Linked DNA regions of Homo sapiens: all the other regions are linked to region 5. Evidence: promoter capture Hi-C in 16 types of primary human blood cells and fetal thymus (Javierre and others, 2016). All regions are on one chromosome and are shown on one strand. Each heading gives the region's core, a stretch centred on a gene start or on the middle of the fragment in contact. The rest is flanking DNA. Distances are from core to core; before and after follow the strand shown. Region 1 holds the start of RAD54B (RAD54 homolog B). Region 2 holds the start of DPY19L4 (dpy-19 like 4). Region 3 overlaps RAD54B (RAD54 homolog B). Region 4 overlaps VIRMA (vir like m6A methyltransferase associated). Region 5 holds the start of RBM12B-AS1 (RBM12B antisense RNA 1). Region 6 holds the start of TRIQK (triple QxxK/R motif containing). Region 7 overlaps VIRMA (vir like m6A methyltransferase associated).

What was found. Contacts are between HindIII fragments. The CHiCAGO score rates a contact against its expected background, and 5 or more counts as called.
Region 1: the fragment with the promoter of RAD54B here is called in contact with the fragment with the promoter of RBM12B-AS1 in region 5 in 10 of 17 cell types (total CD8 T cells, naive CD4 T cells, non-activated CD4 T cells and 7 more); the score reaches 13.4 in total CD8 T cells.
Region 2: a contact is called between the fragment with the promoter of DPY19L4 here and the fragment with the promoter of RBM12B-AS1 in region 5, in 4 of 17 cell types (activated CD4 T cells, naive CD4 T cells, non-activated CD4 T cells and 1 more). The highest score is 6.9, in activated CD4 T cells.
Region 3: a fragment that was not itself captured here is called in contact with the fragment with the promoter of RBM12B-AS1 in region 5 in 1 of 17 cell types (activated CD4 T cells); the score reaches 5.0 in activated CD4 T cells.
Region 4: a fragment that was not itself captured here is called in contact with the fragment with the promoter of RBM12B-AS1 in region 5 in 1 of 17 cell types (non-activated CD4 T cells); the score reaches 5.1 in non-activated CD4 T cells.
Region 6: a fragment that was not itself captured here is called in contact with the fragment with the promoter of RBM12B-AS1 in region 5 in 5 of 17 cell types (erythroblasts, fetal thymus, naive B cells and 2 more); the score reaches 13.1 in erythroblasts.
Region 7: a contact is called between a fragment that was not itself captured here and the fragment with the promoter of RBM12B-AS1 in region 5, in 2 of 17 cell types (non-activated CD4 T cells and total CD4 T cells). The highest score is 5.3, in non-activated CD4 T cells.

The regions. Positions count from the first base shown.
Region 1 is chr8:94,473,803-94,476,710 of GRCh38, reverse strand. It overlaps RAD54B (RAD54 homolog B), which reads left to right and starts at 1,596. Exons shown (of 15, transcript NM_012415.3): 1 at 1,596-1,710. RefSeq lists an enhancer at 1,634-1,863. The HindIII fragment of the contact is 4,488 bases long and covers 1-2,304 here.
Region 2 is chr8:94,718,462-94,721,161 of GRCh38, reverse strand. DPY19L4 (dpy-19 like 4) reads right to left here and starts at 1,262. Exons shown (of 19, transcript NM_181787.3): 1 at 1,148-1,262. The coding sequence starts at 1,163. RefSeq lists a silencer at 1,135-1,454 and an enhancer at 1,215-2,169. The HindIII fragment of the contact is 11,065 bases long and covers 1-1,816 here.
Region 3 is chr8:94,455,067-94,457,882 of GRCh38, reverse strand. All of the region lies in intron 3 of RAD54B (RAD54 homolog B), which reads left to right. Among named protein-coding and RNA genes, the nearest start is that of RAD54B, 19 kb to the left of the region's middle. The HindIII fragment of the contact is 675 bases long and covers 1,045-1,719 here.
Region 4 is chr8:94,525,238-94,527,944 of GRCh38, reverse strand. It overlaps VIRMA (vir like m6A methyltransferase associated), which reads left to right. Exons shown (of 24, transcript NM_015496.5): 8 at 582-1,722. Among named protein-coding and RNA genes, the nearest start is that of VIRMA, 27 kb to the left of the region's middle. The HindIII fragment of the contact is 220 bases long and covers 1,303-1,522 here.
Region 5 is chr8:93,738,806-93,741,505 of GRCh38, reverse strand. It overlaps RBM12B-AS1 (RBM12B antisense RNA 1), which reads right to left and starts at 1,395. Exons shown (of 1, transcript NR_027259.1): 1 at 687-1,395. RBM12B (RNA binding motif protein 12B) reads left to right here and starts at 497. Exons shown (of 4, transcript NM_001377960.1): 1 at 497-625; 2 at 810-877. RBM12B-DT (RBM12B divergent transcript) reads right to left here and starts at 423. Exons shown (of 2, transcript NR_183450.1): 1 at 47-423. RefSeq lists an enhancer at 471-590. The HindIII fragment of the contact is 1,858 bases long and covers 443-2,300 here.
Region 6 is chr8:92,964,621-92,967,560 of GRCh38, reverse strand. It overlaps TRIQK (triple QxxK/R motif containing), which reads left to right and starts at 1,417. Exons shown (of 5, transcript NM_001171797.2): 1 at 1,417-1,554. RefSeq lists a silencer at 1,321-1,430 and an enhancer at 2,101-2,210. The HindIII fragment of the contact is 2,520 bases long and covers 116-2,635 here.
Region 7 is chr8:94,496,624-94,499,323 of GRCh38, reverse strand. The region is part of intron 17 of VIRMA (vir like m6A methyltransferase associated); the gene reads left to right. Among named protein-coding and RNA genes, the nearest start is that of RAD54B, 23 kb to the right of the region's middle. The HindIII fragment of the contact is 3,367 bases long and covers 1-2,700 here.

The sequences.
Region 1 (2,908 bases), core at 347-2,846, 740 kb before region 5:
AAGACTAGTACTATTCTAAACACATGGGTACAGCAGAGAATAAAGCAAAGATCCTGCCCTCATGTAGCTTATATTCTGAGAGTAATAGAAAAACAATTAACAAATAAGTATATGTTAGGGAATGGAAAGTGTGATGAACTCTATAAAGCAGGGTAAGGGAGATACAAGATGAGACAAGAGAGCAATGCACTGTCAGATAAAGCCCTTTGACAAGTTGATATGTGAGTAATGATCTGAAGTGAAGGATCAAACCAGATGCAAATCTGCAAGAGGAATGTCCCAGGTCACCTTTAGCCAATCTGTTTTAGATTTTCTGAACTCCCCAGATGATATTAAGGTAGGCTGCAGACACTATGAAGCTAGCTTGTTTTCTGGTTACCCTTACTCTTTATGTGTCCCAGTCCAAAGAAGAGGGGGGTGCGGTTTACTAAGGTGCCCAACCTTGGCAGGTCCCCATTTCAAATTCTTGTAACGCTGGCTCCAGGAGCTGCCAAAAGCACAACTCAACCTATGAGGTGCTCTTTATGACTGGAAAAAGTCCCCAGGATAAAAGCTCCTTAAGCACATTACTCTTTTTTTTTGAAACAGGGTCTCTCTGCTGCCCAGGCTGGAGTGCTGCGGCACCATCTCGGTTCATTGCAGCCTTCACCTCCCAGGTTCAAGCGATTCTCCCGCCTTAGTCTGCTGAGTAGCTGGGATTACAGGCGCGCTCCACCAAAACCAGCTAATTTTTGTATTTTTAGTACAGACCGGGTTTCACCATGTTGGCCAGGCTGGTCTCGAACTCCTGACCTCAAGTGATCCGCCCGCCTCGGCCTCCCAAAGTACTGGGATTACAGGCACAAGCCACCGCTCTCAGCCTCAAATTACTCTTTTAAATGGCTGTACCTATTTACACTCCTACCAGCAGCCCAAGAGTTCCCATTGTTTCACATCTTCATTTCACCCTTGATATTTTTTAGCTTTTACTTTTTGTCAAACTGCTGGATAAAACTCAATAAACAACCTTTAGCCATTCTCTCTCCTTTCAGATTAGCCTTTCTAATACCATTTTTCAGGGATAGTTGACTGTGTTACCGCCTAGCACTTAGAAGGTGCTCAGTAAATACTCATTGAATGATGTAACTTTCCTACTTAACATGCTTTAATGCTTTTCCAAGTCCGGAGGCGGCTCCCCTTTTCTGAGAGCCTAATAATCACGTATTCGTTTCTATATTCCCAGAACCTAACAAAGAGTTTGAAAATTATCCTGCAGGCACCGCTAAGTCAATGTTTTTTCGGATGAATGAATAACCAATAGGATATCGTATACTTCTGCGATGCACGCATTTCTATTATCGCACACACCGAATCATACCGTATTTATTACTTATCCACGCAGATGGTGAGGTCTGTAGCCTCGGCATCTACACTGTGTCTGAAAGTAGGCACTAAACCAGTATTTTTTTAATTGAACCGTAAACTTGAATCAAACTTGGAAGCATTTAAAGCCAAACGCAAAGATACATGCGCAGTGATGCAGTAGGGTCGTCCAATCAGAGTAGGGCAGGACAGGGCAGTGCAGCGGCTAGGTAGTGCGCACGCGCGGCGGGCTCGTCCGCGATTGGCTTCGCCGAGGCGGGATCCTTGAGCTTCTCCGGCGGCGAGGGGATAGCTGGTTACCAGAAGGACTTCTTTGCAGGGCCAGTGGTTTCTGTCAGATTTTCGCCGGTGCGTCCTGCAGGGGGAAGCTCGGGAGGCTGCGACAGCCTGTAGGCTCGTGCGGGACAAAGCAGGGAGTGGCGCCGGAGCAGGCCAACGAGGGAGGAGGGAGGGAAGGCGGCAGGAGCGACCGAAGTGGCCTTCTGCGGGCCTGCAGCTTTGGTCTGAAGTGCCAGGGACGCCCTGGTTGCTGGCCCCGGGGGCCTTGGAGCGAAGGGCGGGCGGTGGGGGTTTAGGGTTGTGCGTTTGTGTGGGAGGGATGGTTCTGGGCAGTGGCCCCTGGGGCCGCCACTGCGGTCGCTTTGCGCAGGCTCCTCTTGGCTTTTGGGTCTCTCCCTCACTCCTGCACTGGGAATTTCCTTCCCCAGGGCCAGGGGGTGAAGGCTCTGCGAGCGTCCTGGAGAGTGTCGGTACGCCTTCTTTAGGGGCTTTTACCTCTTCACTGGTCAGGTTTTTCTTGTATTTCCTTAAAACCTTTTAATCGATTACCTTATGGAAGATTTTCTAGGTAGGAACAGATGCTTCTCGACTTACTACGGGGTTGAAAATATCCCAAATGGAAAATGGATTTAAAACACAGCTAACCTACTGAGTATTAAAGCTTGGCCTAGCCTACTTTTGTTATCAAAAAAATTATTTTCAGCTGTTTATTTTAGATTTGGGGGTACATGTGCAGGTTTGTTGCATCGGTATATTACGTGGTGCTGAGGTTTGGATACGATTGATCCTGTCACCCAGGTAGTGAGCATGTTACCCAATAGTTTTTGAACCCTTGCTCCTCCTTTCCTCTCCCTTCTAGTTGTCTCCACTGTCTATTGTTGCCATCTTTATGTTCATGAATGCCCAATGTTTAGCTCCCATTTATAAGTGAGAACATGCAATATTTGATTTTCTGTTTCTGCTTTAATTCGCTTTGGATAATAGCCTCCAGCTGCACCCATGTTGCTGCAAAGGACATGATTTCATTCCTTTTTATGGCTGCGCTAGCCTACCTTAAACATGCTCAGAACACTTACCTTAATCTACAGTTGGGCAAAATCATGAACACAGACGGTTGTGTGGTTACTTGTACAGTTTCTACTGAATGCTCATGGCTTTCTTAAAAGTCGAAGAATTCTAAGTGACACCGTCCTAAATTAGGAACCATCTATATAGCCGGAGTCTCAAAGGAGCAATTTAAGGCATGAAGTGAAATAATTACTACCTA
Region 2 (2,700 bases), core at 13-2,512, 980 kb before region 5:
CCAGCCTGACCAACATGGAGAAACCCCGTCTCTACTCAAAATATAACATTAACCGGGCGTGATGGCGCATGCCTGTAATCCCAGCTACTAGGGAGGCTGAGGCAGGAGAATCGCTTGAATCCAGGAAGCGGAGGTTGCGGTGAACCGAGATCGCGCCTTTGCACTCTAGACTGGGCAACAAGAACGAAACTCCGTTTCAAAAAAAAAAAAGGCAGGGGGGCTTGAGTCTAAATTAGATCGATTTACTATCACATCCACAGCTCCACTCATAAGGTAAAAAGTTGTGTTTTCCACCAGAATGCAAAAATCTAATTGCTTCTCACTTCCTGAAACTAGTAGGGGTTATCATGAAGTTACTATGCCATGAGTATTCCTTGTATTGTTTATCACTAACCGATAAGTTTCATCTAACTTCCCATTTTTGTCTCATACTTATCATTTTCTATAAATAAAATACTGCTGAATGAATTACTTATCTTAGCATTGATCCTGAAGGCGGCATGGAAACCTTTCTCCAGCTCACCCACTTTGACCCTCAAAGGCCTCCTGGCCTCATCATCTCCCAAAACTATAATAATTAGATGGCTCTGCTCTTTACCATTTTCCCCTGAACCTAAGTGAACTTGGCTTTCTTCAGTTTCTGCGTGTTCGCCCATTCCCAATTAATCTTGCCACGTTTATCCCAAATCCCTGCCTCTTTATCCCCGTGGTGAATGTTCCCTCGCCCCCTGTGCCTCTGGGTTTGTCAATATCCACAGCCCTTTAAAAATCGCATTCCAAATATGCACTGAGTACCTAAACCTGATCTTCGAAACCAAACTGCGCCTCCCACTTCACCAAGAATCTGATCAGGACCCTCCCTCTTTCCCAACCACTCCCGGCACAGCTTTCTCTCTTGCTACGGATTCCCAACTTTCAGCTCCACCTTTGCTTCCCAATTCGGCCGACAAAACTTCGGGCCATTTGCTCCGCTCTCCTGAATTTCTCCGCAGTCCTCTCCTGGGCGCCGCGCTCCTTCCCGCCCTGCCCGCGCGGCCGCCACCGCGACCGCGGCCACCAGCAGCTCCAACCCAGACCTCCAGCGCCCCCGCCCCTCCTTCCCGAGACCACTGGCAGCCGTTGGCGCGCTGGACCCCGCGGCAATCACCTTCTTCCTCCGCCATCGTTTCTGCGAAGGCTAGGGCGCCCTGCGGCTCCCGCGCGGCCCAGACTCTCCCTCCCTCCGCGTCGCCGAACCCCTCGGCCTCCGGGGGCCCGCTCCTGGCCGCCGCGCCCCCACTTCCTGACCCACCCCCCTCCGGTGTCGCCGCCAACCGCGTCCCCGCAGGCGGCCCGGGAACCAGAGTGTTGGGAGAGGGGAGCGGCCGGAGCGTTTCGCTGGGGCGCCGGGGCCTGCGCGGGCAGGAAGGAGACTCCACGCCGGGAGTGCAGCCCACAGCTGTAGCTCCTGGCCGCCGCCTGCCCTGGAAAGCGAGACTGGTGGGTCTCGCTGCAGCCCCGCCCCTCGTCCTACTCTTCCCAAAAAGTGAGGGCATGCTTTCCGCCACTTTTGTGACTCCGCGACTTAGCGAGTCAGAGACGATCATCAGCGACACCTCCCAGGTCCAGCCTCCATTCCCGCCCCATTTTACATGGAGGAAACTCAGATCTAATGTGGTGGAAGTCACAAAGCCGGTCAGAGGCAGAAGTGGAACCCGGTGCTCCAGAACTGCCATCGCTGCCTGCGTTCTCGCTGGGATTTCAGAGTGCAGCAGCAAAACGTTCTCAGTTGGCGCTTTGGTTTCGTAGGCCACTTGACCATTACAAGAAAGAAGCTTGTGCTTGGAACTTGTTTTAAATCACCAAAACTGGTTTAGCAAATATGTTGCATTTCATGATATTCTGGGGGGGGGGGCGGGGAGATAATACAATGGTCTGGGGTAGAGCAGTGTGCAATTAGATATTACAGAGCAATAGGGAATAATTTTAATTTGTTAAACTGTGTTTAACTTTCATTATATCTAGCATTCTTCAACAAACACCGGGATCTTTTCCCCAACAGTACTCAGAAGTAAATTTAGTAAATGAAATATACCCATTTTAGATCGGGAGAAACAGGCACGAGAATTCACTGAAGTCATGGGGTAATTATGGACACCCCATTATTAGCAGGCAGCAAGATTCTCCTAATAGCACCTTTAAGTTAGGATATTTGGGGAGAGGCTATCATTTTTCAGTGATGTGCAGAAACGGTTCCAGGAACTTTTTTTTTTTTTTTTTGAGACAGAGTCTCGCTCTGTCGCCCAGGCTGGAATGCAATGACTCGATCTAGGTTCACTGCAACCTCCGCCTCCCAGGTTAAAGCGATTTTCGTGCCTCGGCCTTCCCAGTAGCTGGGACTACAGGCGCAAGCCACCACTTAATTTTCATATTTTTAGTAGAGATGGGATTTCACCATGTTGGTTGGCCAGGCTAGTCTCCAACTCCTGGCCTCAAGTGATCCGCCCACCTTGGCCCCCCGAAGTGCTGGGTTTACAGGTGCCCACCACCACGCCCGGATAATTTTTTGTACTTTTAGTAGAGAAGTGGAGGGGTGTGGTTTCACCATGTTGCCCAGGCTGGTCTTGAAATCCTGACCTCAAGTGATCCACCGGCCTCAGCCCCACAAAGTGCTGGGATTACAGGCATGAGCTACCACGCAGGGCCTCCAGGAACTCTTTT
Region 3 (2,816 bases), core at 133-2,632, 720 kb before region 5:
TCAAATCAGAGTTGAATTATTATGATACATACTTGCATGAAAACCAAGCATTTAACAAATGCTCCATCCCTCTATTGTTGAACTGAGTTAAAATAATGATTATGGTTCTTTTTGTATATGTAAGAGAACACTATTTGTTAGGTAACTAAAAAAATAATTAAGATGGTTCATAGATGTTTATTTGGTCTTGTGAAAGCCATCATTAGACTGTATTTTTCCAAATTACATTTTATTCATGTTTTGGTTGAATGAACAGATTCAGCCAGCCGGCCCCATCTGTTGGGCTACAGAATAGTAACTGCCATCCTTATGATACCAGTGCAAATCAACAAAGTGCCCTAAGCACCATTTTGAAGGAAGTTCTTGGACTTCCTGATGATTAATGAATTTTACCTGTGAATGGGTTTGTATCTTGTCCGGACAGAAAGGAATTCTGTATTTACCTAACTGGCCATTATCTTGGTGCCATTTATGTGCTCCTCATAACTTTTCAAAAGCTGTGACTGGTGTCAGAACAAGGTGGAGAAAGACTTTTTGAGCTGATTCAGTATAGGAAGATCCCTAGGAACAGCTCTGGGCATGGCAGTTTAGCTCTGCTCTATCTTACTGACTTGCTCTCCCTTCTTTCCTCCCTATTTTCCCCACTTCCTCCTTCCTTGCTTCCATCCTTGTTAGGTGACTATTCTGTTTTCCCAGATTTTCTTTTCTACTTTAAGCCCGAGGTAGAAAATGATCCATGTATGCCCAGTTCTTTTCTAATTTCTTCATCAGAAAATGACATTTAGACTCTGGAATATAATACCTTTTATGTTACTAATCTTGGGCTTTATTTGTATTCTACCATAGTTTCTCATTCTCTTCCCTGCTAAATTTGAGAAGGGAGTTAAGAGTTAAGATAAAATAAAGAGGGAGTTAACTTACTCAACTCCTAATCCCGTAATCCTTTCTCTGATTAGTACATTCAGTGGACTGGAGAACCTGTGCCAACCTCCTGATACCCTCCTGTTTCTTGTTCAGAAAGAGGTTAAATTGGGGAAAAAAGCTTTGTGAGAAATGTTTTGTTCTCTATGGTGGATTGTTGGAGAGGGATGTAGCATATAGAAAAGCATAGAGATGAGAGACCTGTTTAGTATCCACTCACCCTTTCACATCTTTTTCATTCTTGATCTAATCCACCTTGAAATGAACTACAAATCTGTATGTCCCAGTTAAATAACATATGTCATTTTCCCCATCACCTTTTTATTTTGAAATATGCCTACAAACTCTCGAGTTGAAAGAATGACGCAATTAACATCCTAAACTCACCAGTTACTAACATTTTGCCTCATTTGTGTGCTTTCTCTCTTTTTCTCTATGTAGATGCACTCCCCTCAACCTTTTGAAAATAAGTTGCATATATCATGCCACTTTACCTCTAGCCACTTAAGTGTGTATTTCTTGAAATAAATGTTTTCTCCTGCATAACCACACATTGTTATTATACCAAACAGGATTAATAGTAATTCATAATATTTAGTTCATTGTTAATGTCATTTTTGCTTAAGCTAGTTTCAGTTTGGTTTCTCTTTCAACTGAAAGAGCCCTGATAAGTACATTTTCACTTTCTTGAATTCACGGGACACTTTGAGTCTCTTCATAACACTGCGTGTTTACAGATAATATCCTTTGTGTGAGAATGAAGATGTAGGTCTACCACTAATGACTTCCCCCAAAGCTTAGGGAATGTGATTTCTTTGGGGGTTGTGGTAGAATGGCCATAGGACCCACTTCTATCTTTTTTGATCCAAGCTCCACAGGTGTTTCTTTTCATGAACAATCCAGTTCAGTACTTTTGACCCTGGGCTTTCAAAAACCAAATTCTGGGAGAGGGGAAATGTAGTGGCTTCAATTGTGTCTCCTAAAGATATATGTTAAAGTCCTAAGCCTTGGTACCTATGAATGTGAACTTATTTGGAAATAGGGTCTTTGCAGATGTAATCAAGATAAAGTCATACTGGATTAAGATAGACCCTAAATTTAATGACTGGTGTCCTTATGAAGAAAGAGATAGAAACACAGAGGGAAAAAGACCATGTGATGGTGGAAGCAGAGATTGGAATAACCACCCATGATTGCTGGAAACCACCAGGGGCTAGAAAGAAGCAAAGAAAGATTCTCCCTTAGAACCTTCAGAGAGAGCATAGCCCTGCTGCCACCTTGATTTTGGACTTCTGGTTTCCAGACTGTGGGAGAATAAATTCTGTTGTTTAAAGCCACCCAGTTTGTTACAGGAGTCTCAGAAATAAATACAGGAAGCCCCAGATCTCTTGGGTATTCAGAGCTATATAGTTTCTTTAGAAAAAGAGAAAGTTTTTTTATTCTTTCTGATTCTTTCTCATTCTGAAGAACTGTGAGAGGAGACTATGCCATCTTCTGTTATCTGTTTACCTGAATCTCCTTCACAAAACTGTGACATGCAAAGGCAGGAATGTTCTCTTGTTAAGGTTTTAAATCAAACTATATAGATTTAAAAATGTTTTGTGACTGAACAAAGAGATCCTGAGAAACTTACAGTTTTCTCTAGTTGAGTCTCTTGGCTGTCTTTGGCTTCAGAGTGCTTCAGGGAAGTCAAGTAGCCACAAAGAGGCTATTGGAACATTATAGTTTGCAGGCTCTGGTAATATTTGAGAGAATAATTTCACAAGTGTTTTGGAACAAAAGTCATGCTGTAATGGATATGTGATGAATGGAAATAGGCCAGTGGAGGAAGTGAATGCGAGTAAGTATGTAAATAAAGTTTGTAAGTAAATAAATAAATTCGGTAGTGAAGGAAG
Region 4 (2,707 bases), core at 163-2,662, 790 kb before region 5:
TAAATGGACACATTTTCTATCAAAATATAATGGAGACCTACAAAACTGTGTGATAGGTAAATGCAGAGAAATAAAAATTCTGGAATGTGAAATTGTTATAAAACGAATCTACAATGGTTTTGCTGAAAGTATTTGGTTTAACCTGATGATATTAGTTCTTACTTAACTTAAAACAACCAGTTTTTTTTGGTCTTAAAAATAATCTCTCAAGAGGACAAGCATAATTTCTTTCCTCCTGAGATAGATATTTTTGTTACTTTGAGGCATTTCTAATTATATTTCTGTGAGGAAAAGATATCTGTTACAGTTAGTTGTAAAACTGAACAGATACAGAGGAATTTGCTTAAAATGTTTGTCCAGTTTTCAGGTCTCACCCCTTTCAGGAAAAAAAGAAGTTTGTCCATAATTCTATTAGAAATTATAAAATGTTGTAAAATTGTGGGTAAGATGTTGGGGCAGAAGTTGGTTTTGTTGAGGAAATCATTTTTAATGTTTTATTAAAACTATTTCTTGTTCAATCAGAATTTATGTATTAGACAAAGATGATGTAATACTTAAATATTATTCATACTAATTTTCAGGGGATGATGGTTATGAACAAATTTCCAGTGATGAAGATGGAATTGCTGACTTGGAACGTGAAACATTTAAGTATCCAAACTTTGATGTTGAATACACTGCTGAAGACTTAGCTTCAGTTCCTCCTATGACATATGATCCATATGACAGGGAGCTTGTACCACTCTTATACTTCAGTTGTCCATACAAGACTACTTTTGAAATTGAAATCAGTAGAATGAAGGATCAAGGTCCAGATAAAGAAAATTCAGGGGCAATCGAAGCCTCAGTGAAGTTAACAGAACTCTTAGATTTGTATAGAGAAGATAGAGGTGCAAAATGGGTAACAGCTTTAGAAGAAATTCCAAGTTTAATAATAAAAGGGTTAAGCTATTTGCAATTGAAAAACACAAAACAAGACTCCCTTGGCCAGTTGGTAGACTGGACCATGCAAGCTTTAAATTTACAAGTAGCGCTTCGCCAACCTATCGCCTTAAATGTTCGACAGCTCAAAGCTGGGACCAAATTAGTGTCCTCACTAGCAGAATGTGGGGCTCAAGGAGTTACAGGACTGCTACAAGCAGGAGTGATCAGTGGATTATTTGAACTTCTGTTTGCTGATCACGTATCATCTTCTCTTAAGTTAAATGCTTTTAAAGCTTTGGACAGTGTCATTAGTATGACAGAAGGAATGGAAGCTTTTTTAAGAGGTAGGCAGAATGAAAAAAGTGGTTATCAAAAGCTTCTGGAACTCATACTTTTAGATCAGACTGTGAGGGTTGTTACTGCTGGTTCAGCTATTCTCCAAAAATGCCATTTCTATGAAGTCTTGTCAGAGATTAAAAGACTTGGTGACCATTTAGCAGAGAAGACTTCATCTCTTCCTAACCACAGTGAACCTGATCACGACACAGATGCTGGACTTGAGAGAACAAACCCAGAATATGAAAATGAGGTGGAAGCTTCTATGGATATGGATCTTTTGGAATCCTCAAATATAAGTGAAGGGGAAATAGAAAGGCTTATTAACCTCCTAGAAGAAGTTTTTCATTTAATGGAAACTGCCCCTCATACAATGATCCAACAACCTGTTAAGTCTTTCCCAACGATGGCACGAATTACTGGACCTCCAGAGAGGGATGATCCATACCCTGTTCTCTTTAGGTAAGACATGTTTGCCTTTTGGGAAATAAATTTCACAAATCATTGGAGACAATTTTATGTGGTTGATTTTGCTTTTTATCTGATTGTAGGTAACTTATTTATGTGTAAGGATACTTGATATTTCAAAACGGTTATTTAGTAGTGGAACTGAGAAGTATGTTACTGTGGGTGAGCTTATATTGTGTTAGTTCTTAAAGCAAAAATGGGAACTTCAGTGAAAGATTTTAGTAATTAACAATGATGCTTGTATAAGCATGTCTATGAGCAAGAATAAATGAGAAACTGCTGACTTGCTTCTGGGAAGGTGGTAACAAAGGAATGGTGTAGGAAGGAGAGCTCTTCTGTGTGAACCCATCTGTACTTACTACTCTTAATACATTGTAAGTTAAAATTATATTTTACTAGCTTAATTTTACAGTGCTGGTTAAAGATGTCTTTAAGTTTCCATTACTACTTGTTTCTGCCATCTACCTCTCTCATCTGTTGATACAGTTTTGCCATTGTTAGGACCAGCATCCCTAGTAGATTTTTTATTTTGTTTTGAGACTTTCTTTCTTACCATTTGCCTGTAAATAATTTCCTAACATAAAAATGGAAAAATGGCATTTGAATTATTTTATTACTTATTTTTGTGATTAATATTTTCATTGATTTGGATGGAGCATAGTGCATTCCCAGGGGATGGGATATGTGTCCAGTCTAAAACCTCCACTTATCCAAGTTCCTGTTTTTAGCTGAAACTGTTACACCTTGTCTTAGTTTTGAGTTTCCTAAAAGGATAACTTGAGTCAAAGTCTTGGGTGCAGGTTCTTTGAAAGATTATCCTAGGAAGCAGAAATGCCTGAAGAGAGTAAGATAAGGAGAAAAACCAGTAAAGGAAGTGTTATTATACTTATTGCTGTGGACAGCTGGGGCTCATCCTACTGGGGATCCTCCGAAGAACTGGTTAAAGTGTATCTCCTGCTTATCCTCCTAAAACATTCAG
Region 5 (2,700 bases), core at 146-2,645:
AGACGGGGGTTTCGCTTTTTGGGCGGGCTGGTCTCGAACTACTGACCTCAAGTGATTCGCCCGCTTCGGCCTCCCAAAGTGCTGGGATTACAGACGTGAGCCACCGTGCCCGGCCACAGGAGCTTTTTAGAAGATGTTTTACGCCACACAGTAATGCAACACTGAAAAGACAAGTCGCCTTTTCTCTGCTTTTGCATCTCTTTCCTTAACTTCTGGAAATCTTTAAAGTTTGTCCGCCGTACTTCGACAGTTGTCTACCGAAGATTCTCAGCACATCTACCGGCTGAGCCCTGAATGTGTCTCTGAATTTCTCCCGTTGAAAGTCGAGGTCCCTGGGCTGGGCAGAATCTGGGCATGCGCAGAAGCTCAGCCAACCCCGGGGCTCCGCCTCCCCTCCTCTAGCGAGGGGAAACGGGTGAGCGGCAGCGCGCGTGCGCAAGCTTGGTGGTGGGTTGCGCCTGCAGAGCGCATGGGCAGATAAACCGTACGTCCGTTTGTCCGGACCGGAGGGGCAGTGGGCGCCATCTTCTTCTGGGCTCACTGAGGGTCTACCTGTTTTGGGGAGGCTGCTGCGACGAAGAGTTCCCTCAGCCTCCGGCCTTGTGTGTCCGACTCGGCAGCAGTGGTGTGTGTTTATTGCCAAGTGCGAAGCAGTTCCCCTCGGGGCGCCGGGGGTGGGGAGGGCTGGGCGACCAAGCCGGAAGAACGGGGAAAGGCGGGACCGGCGGCCGCGCCAGTATCTAGCGTAGCTCCTGCCGTTAGGGCACCCTCTTTTCTTGCTAAAACACCGACTCTTCCTTTCCCGTCAGCTTCCATGTGGTGGTGTATGTGCGCTTCCCAGGGATCTTGAGAGTGAAGATCTCGAAGGATTTCATAGGTATATTTTTTTCTTTGCTATGTCATCGTAGTCAGTGGTGGCAGAAAAGCGCTGCAGGCCCAGCTCGTTAGGCTTGAGAAGGGCAAGTGTTTTCAGTTAGATCTGGGGGCAGTTCACCCTCTGGCGAGTTAGGGTGGAATGTTTGCCCTTGAGACGGCGTAACGGAAAGGCACGGAGGTTGGGCGGTCCAGGTTAATTTGAAGGCTGATTTTGGCTGAAAGTCTGGCGACAACATCGGATCCCACGTAGCAACTTTGGCCTGGCGCGAAAGAAGGAAGCTCTGACCCCTGGGAGTTGTGGACAAAGGCTTTGGGCTGTAGAATCGATGCCTTCGGATGATTCCCGTTTGAGGATGTTGGGAGAAATCCTGTGCCATGTGGATTCGTCTTCATTTACAGTTCTTCCTAGGGACTGTGGCTCTCATTGGTCATTCCTTTGGTTTTTATTTTAAACATCTACATTATAAAAGGTGGATCATCGTAAAGAATAATTATGGGTTGGTGTAGATTATTTTCTGCAGGGGAAACTCACGTTTAGAGTGTGAATATGCTACATCATGACCTTGGGCTTTACGAAGTAGTCGCAGAGTTAAAAAAAATTCTCTCCCTCACCATATCTGGAAAATGACTTTTTCTTCGCTAGTTAAAAATCAAATGGATCTGATGAGATATTACTTATTTAAATTCTGTCTCCCTCCCGTTTCCCTCTCTGTATCCCCTTAAGTCTTGATTAGAAGAGGCACGTTACGTATTGTTTAGTTATAATGGTGATTAAGTGGGATGAATCGTTGGATAAAAATAGCAGTTATTTAAAATGCGCTTTAAATTTCACTGACTTAAGTGATCTTTTAGGGACCCACTCTTCTTTTCATAGAAATTTTAACAGATTATTGTCTTCAAATGAACACAAAGGCACAAAAATACTTTTTGCATTCATAACTAGAAAAACGCAAAATTTTAATTGCAGACTACTTGAGGGTAATTTTCGTGTTTTGCTTTTGTGTAATTTAGTGTGTTAAGAGTTGAATTTCTGGAGAATTTGCTTAAGGAAATATAGCATGTTGGAACCACAGAAGTGCCCATTTTGAGAGCTGGTCTCTTACAGTTGGTCTCCAAGGTGTGTTATTGTAGAGGCATAAATGGTACATTACCCTACTGTCTCAAGGGTAGAGAAGTTTAAGCATTAGTTTTGTTTAACTGTGGCAAATGAGAATAAACTTTCTAAATAGTCTGCTTGAATTGGAATTCATGAGATTTGTGCTCATGAAACTACTTGGTTAAAAGATAGTTTTTAAGTGAGGTAGGATAAATTACTAGAGTTTTTTTGAATTTGAGATATAATTATTCCTTGAAACGTCTCTAATTTCTCTTGTAGATGAATTTATGTTCCCAGGGTAAATCCCGTTAAAATTTTTTTAAAAGCTTAGGAGAGACAAGAATATGTATAGCTTATGGTGCTTTCTAAAATATCTTAAAAAGAGTAGCTAAGCCAATTTGCATAGGAGGGAGTCTTGGGACTTTAATATGGATAAAGTAAGTATTCCAGAAGCCATTTGTAGTTTTTGTTGAAGTGTTAGTATGGATATTGGTTTGTTGAAGAAAATAGGCTTTTTTTCTTTTTTTGTTACTGTGCAAATACTTTAATAGCAAACCTGATTAATATTTTTCAGATGTAGAATGTGTGAAGTAATTTGATGTCTTTGCTAGTTTAGCTTCTGGTTAATCTACGTACCCTTTTTTAAAGGAAAACAGACCTCAGTGAATGTATCTTCAGACCCCCACTTTGGGGAACAGTGGTACTTAAGTGTAAGTACTGGATTCTGG
Region 6 (2,940 bases), core at 126-2,625, 770 kb after region 5:
CATGAACCACCACACCTGGCCAAACCAAATATTTTTAAAAGATTAAAGAAAATGGGGACTCTGAGTCATACAAATCAAGAAAGTTTTATAGAGAGTTATTCACATTTAGCAAGCTTTCAGAAGAATTTGGATATTCAGCAGGTCAAGAGTGTAAAATTATTTGTAATTGGAATGGGTTTCTTTTATTCCAACAATTGCATCACAGTACGATGAACATTTTAATTGAATCTCAAGGCACTTGTCCAGAGGTACTCTTTTTTTTTTTCTTTTTTCTTACTACAACCGTATCTATCAGACAAGATAAACCCTTCTGGGTTTTGGTTTAATATGGAAGGAAAAAGAGTTTCACTATTTTAAAGCCACACACATAAGTAATCTGGTTAAGTGTATTAATATAATCTCATTTAACTCTACCTTTATTTCTGGGAGAGGAACTGGAGACCAGAAAATGATTTAGGAGGACGGAAAATAAAATTACATTTTGGATTCAATTCCTGGCCATAATATTCTGTGAGATTTCAGAAAGCCTTCTGGTTAGTCTATTTATACTTGTCTCAGTTTTTTTTTTTTTTTTTTTTTTGTATGCTACTTTCTTTCTCAAGGGCTTTTGGAAAAAGATATGATGGGGCTGGCCTAGAGGAAGGTGACTTTTATGTGAGCAAGAGAAAAATTAAATTGGAGGTTGCATAATTTTTTGAAGGAATTTTAGATTTAGTTCACCACAATATTAAAAAATGATGGCTGCAGGCACTTAGATTTGTTGAATGGTTGAATAAATCTAGCCTTTCCTAGCCTGTGTTTCATTGTCCATAGGCTGTGGATAATACTCTTAGTGGGTTTTGTAAGGATTACATGAGTATAATTTATAAAGCATTTAATATTTGAATACTTTTCCAATAAGTAACATCTTAATATTTCATTCCCATTTTGTAGATGTGAAAATTGAGTACCCGAACATAGGCTCCTAAATCCTAATTGTCAGTCACGTTTTTGCAATCTTTCCTAAATTTATTAATCTCTGGTTAATGTTAATATAAAACGATTTTTTTTTCTTTTTTGCTGTTTGAATGGGCAATTAATTGATTGTTTACACAGACAGTGCGCCCTTCCACTTAGGGACGCTCCTTAGGGATGATCCTGTGAATTGGGGAGTGTGTGTGTGTGAGATGGGAGGGTTCAATAATCAAAATAACATATTTTTCCGTTTTATATTAACTAAACAAGTCACAGTCTTTATTTTTAATTTCTACAGTCACCTCGTGAGACAGGTATTAGAACTCCGGAGTGGCATCAAAATGAGGGAAAGGCCTCAGGGCCAGCGCCTTTGCGTCCTGGACCGGCGTACAGACGGGAGAAAGGCCGACCAATCCGAGAGCAGGCTGAGGCCTGGTCCCGCCCCTGGGGGCAGAGCCTCGCCTCTTTTCCGCCTCACCCTTTGGGAGTAGGGGTGTGCGGCTGGCTTGTCCCGCCCCTGCCCCTGAGTGACAGAACCGTGGACAGCAACATTTCCCACAGGACACGAAGTTTGTCGGCCCTTGCCTTGGCAGAGCTGAGGTGTGTGTCCGGCGAGTGCGAGGGGATTGGGGAGACCCTGCCCGGGAAGCTCGGGGTCCGGGAATGAAAGCGGGCGCACCTCTTTAGCGAGCCCTAAAGCGTTTGGGAGACGATCGTTCCGTCCCTGGGAGCGGCACTTGGTGGGGCTGGGCGGAGGGAGGCTCTGCAAGAGAAACCCGGAGTCCGGGAAACCCAGTAGGTACGGTGATCACTGAAGGACCCGTTCCCGTTGAGTAGGGCGCTGGCTGCGGGATGGGGGATGGAGGGTGCTGGGTTCGGTGGGCGTGGCCATTGCGGTTGCTAAGGAACGCGCGGTTCCCGCCCTGCCAGCGTGTCTGGCGCCAGCCGCTGGGCCCTGGACACGTTAGTCCCGCCCACCTCCCAAGGTCTTCCACGCGGCTCGGGATTGGCTCCTTTGTGCTGACCGATTACTCGCGGTCGCTTACTTGTCAGTGCAGCTCTCTGGGTTCTGCCGTTCCCTTTTGGGGCCCCCTTTCCCATGGTACTCCTCTTCACTCTTTTTCCTGCTTCCTCTTATTAATGAACGAGTATTTGCATACCAAAACATTTGCAGAGAAGAGATTCAGACAGGATTAGGTGGCTTTATCGGTGGTGGTGAGGTTGTGGGGCGGGGGTATTTTTCTTGGAGCTTGGTGTATTCCTGAATCCATCAGATGTTGGTGTCCGCGTGGATGACTAGGAAAAGGGGATTGGAGATTAGGTTTCTTCTACTTGGAGTTCTCTGCTGCTTGTTTGAGCTTAATAAGCCTCCTGAAGAAGTTGAAGCAATTTATTGCTAGAGGAGCCCCAATGTATAATCTCCCTTTCATTCTCTACTGTGGAGAGGTGTGCTAAACCTGTAGAGCTGTTTTTGCTTCACTCGGCTCATACTTAATGATCAACAAGTATGGTGTGAGATGGTAACCTCAGATAACCATTTTAAATCTGCCTTTGTTTGCTCATATACTCTGTCTCCTAATGATTCAGCACAACAAACATTCCAGAGAGAAAAAACAAAAGAGGTAAAAATCTTTTATTTTCCTCTGGCAGGTTTACAGTGCAAACCCCCAGGAAGGAAGCTTGTGCTGCTTGTTAACATTGGGAGGAGCATTGGCCTACAAGTCAGGAAACTGGCATGGTTAAGAAATGTTTGTCCTTGGGCAATAATTGTTTCGTTATCTGTAAATTGGAGACTCTAGGATATGCCCTTCCTTCCTAAAAAAGGAGGAATAATTGGTTGTGAAAGTATCATTAAAGTAATGATCCACACAAATGTAAAGCATTATTGATTACACTTTTAATCTTTTTGTGTATATGATCCAAATTTATAAACACGTATAAGTATTGCCATTCAGCTTTAAGTATTTTCAAATTTCCCTTGTGATT
Region 7 (2,700 bases), core at 57-2,556, 760 kb before region 5:
TGTTTCTTAAATTTGAAATCTTTGGCCAAGTACGATGGCTCACATCTGTAATCTCAGCACTCTGGTGGGCTGAGGTGGGAGGATCTCTTGGGGCCAGGAGTTTGAGACCAGCCTGGGCAAAATAGTGAGACCCTGTCTTGAAAAAAAGAGAAATACTTTGCCGTAAGTTAAATCACTTTATATATTAAATATCCAACATAAAAAAGATCACTTTAGTTCATTTTATTTTATTTTATTTTATTTTAGATAGAGTCTCACTCTGTCATCCAGACTGGAGTGCAGTAGCACAATCTCGGCTCACTGCAACCTCCACATACTGGGTTCAAGTGATTCTCCTGCCTCAGTCTCCTGAGTAGCTGGGATTACAGGCACCTGCCGCCATGCCCAGCTAATTTTTTGTACCTTTTTAGTAGAGATGGGATTTCACCATGTTGGCCAGGCTGGTCTTGAACTCCTGATCTTAGGTGATCTGCCCACCTCGGCCTCCCAAAGTGCTGGGATTACAGGCATGAGCTACCGCACCTGGCCAAGTGCTTTCATTTTAAAATAATTCTTAGATGAGTGTGGTGGCACGTGCCTCTAATCCCATCACTTTGGGAGGCTGTGGTAGGATCGCTTGAGCCCAGGAGTTTGAGATCAACCTGTACAACACAGCAAAACTCTGTCTCTAGAAACAACAAAAATTAGCCACACGTGGTGTGCCCACCAGTAGTCCCATCTATTTGAGAGGCTAAGATTGGAGGATAGCTTGAGTCCAGGAGTTGGAGACTGAACTTAGCTATGATTGTGTCACTGCAGTCTAGTCTAGGTGACAGAGCAAGACGCTGTCTCAAAAAAGAAAAAAATTTATGACATTGAGTTACCTTGCTAGGGCAACTCAGAATAATGAAGTTTTGTTAGTCTCTTTGTTATTTACTTATTTTTGTTACTTAATTTACTGATTGTTTTGGATGTTGTGATTTTGGGATAACTGTAAAGTTTATTATGCTTTAGTATTTTTGGTCTATCGTACAAATATGAATTAAAGATTATTTTCCCCACTCTAAAATCTTATTGTTAAAATTTAATTAAGATTTCTCTCATTAGTATTTTCCAAAGTCATGGTATATTATGAGCACAATTCCAGAAGCCATTAATATGCCTGCCTTACTTAGTTTGGTGGCATGTGCCTCTAGTCCCAGCTGCTCAGGAGGCGGAGTTGGGGAAATCACTTGAACCTATGAGTTCAAGGTTGCAGTGAGCTATGATCGTGCCAGTGTATTTCAGCTTGGATGAAAGAGTGAGACTCTCTTTCTCTCCCTGTTTTTTTCCTGAGACGAGGTCTCACTCTGGTGCCCAGGCTGGAGTGCAGTGGTGTGATCATGGCTCACTGCAGCCTTGACTTCCTTAGGCTCAGGTGATCCTTCCACCTCAGCCTCCTGAGTAGCTGGGACTATAGATGTGCACCATCACACCCGGCTAATTTTTGTATTTTTAGTAGAGATGGGATTTTGCCATGTTGCCCAGGCTGGTCTTGAACTCCTGGGCTCAAGCAATCCACCTGCCTCAGCCCCCAAAAGTGCTGGGATTAGAGGCATGAGCCACCATGCCTGGCCAACTCGTCTCTTAAAATAAGAAAAATAGGCCGGGCATGGTGGCTCACTCCTGTAATCCTAGCACTTTGGGAGGCCAAGGTGGGTGGATCACTCGAGGTCAGGAGTTCGAAACCAGCCTGGCCAACATGGTGAAACCTCGTCTCTACTAAAAATACAAAAAATTAGCTGGGCTTGGTGGTGGATGCCTGTATCCCAGTGCTTGAACCCCGGAGGCAGAGGTTGCAGTGAGCTGAGATTGCGCCATTGCACTCCAGCCTGGGCAACAAAGTGCGACTCCATCTCAAAAAAAAGAAAAAAAAAGAAAAAGAAAGAAAGAAAGAAAAACAGGTTAGGCAAGGTGGCTCACACTTGTAATCTCAGCATTTTGGGAGGTTGAGGTGGGAGGATTGCTTGAGCCCAGGATTTGAGATTAGCCTAGGTAACATAGTGAGACCCCATCTATATGAAAAATTTTAAATTACCTGGGCATGGTGGCACGTGCTTGCAGTCAGTCCCAGGTACTTGGGAGGATGAGATGCAAGGATCACTTGATCCTGGGGAGGTCAAGGCTGCAGTGAGCTATGATTGTGCCACTGCACTGCAGCCTAGGTGACATAGCGAGACCCTGTCTCAACAGCAACAAAAAAACAAGGCTAAAGATTTTATACAATGTTTAGGTAGGCATACGGCCCTCTACCATAAGTGTATGTGACAATATGGATGGTTTTCTTATCATGAAGCAAGATTTATTTTGCTGGAAGGATTTTCTGGTATTGAAATGTTATCACTCCAGAATTCACTTTATTATGTAGCATACTTTTTAAAGCAGAAAATATTAACTTTTCTATGTGACAGAATATAGTCTTAAATATGATAGTTACTATTTTCTTTAGTTGTTTGTGTTATCTTCAGAAAGATAATTTCAGGTTTCATCAGTTCTTTGTTATAGCAAGCATTTTATTAATTCTTGAGCATCAATCAGTGTGTCACGTCCTACAACTGCCAGTGTTTTGCCATTCGGTATTTTGTTGAAAAGTCTTGGTGCCAGTAAAATATATGTTTGCTTATTTAAATATTTTGTGAGTCTTACTCAAAGAAAACATACTTCACCTTTCATCTAAATCCT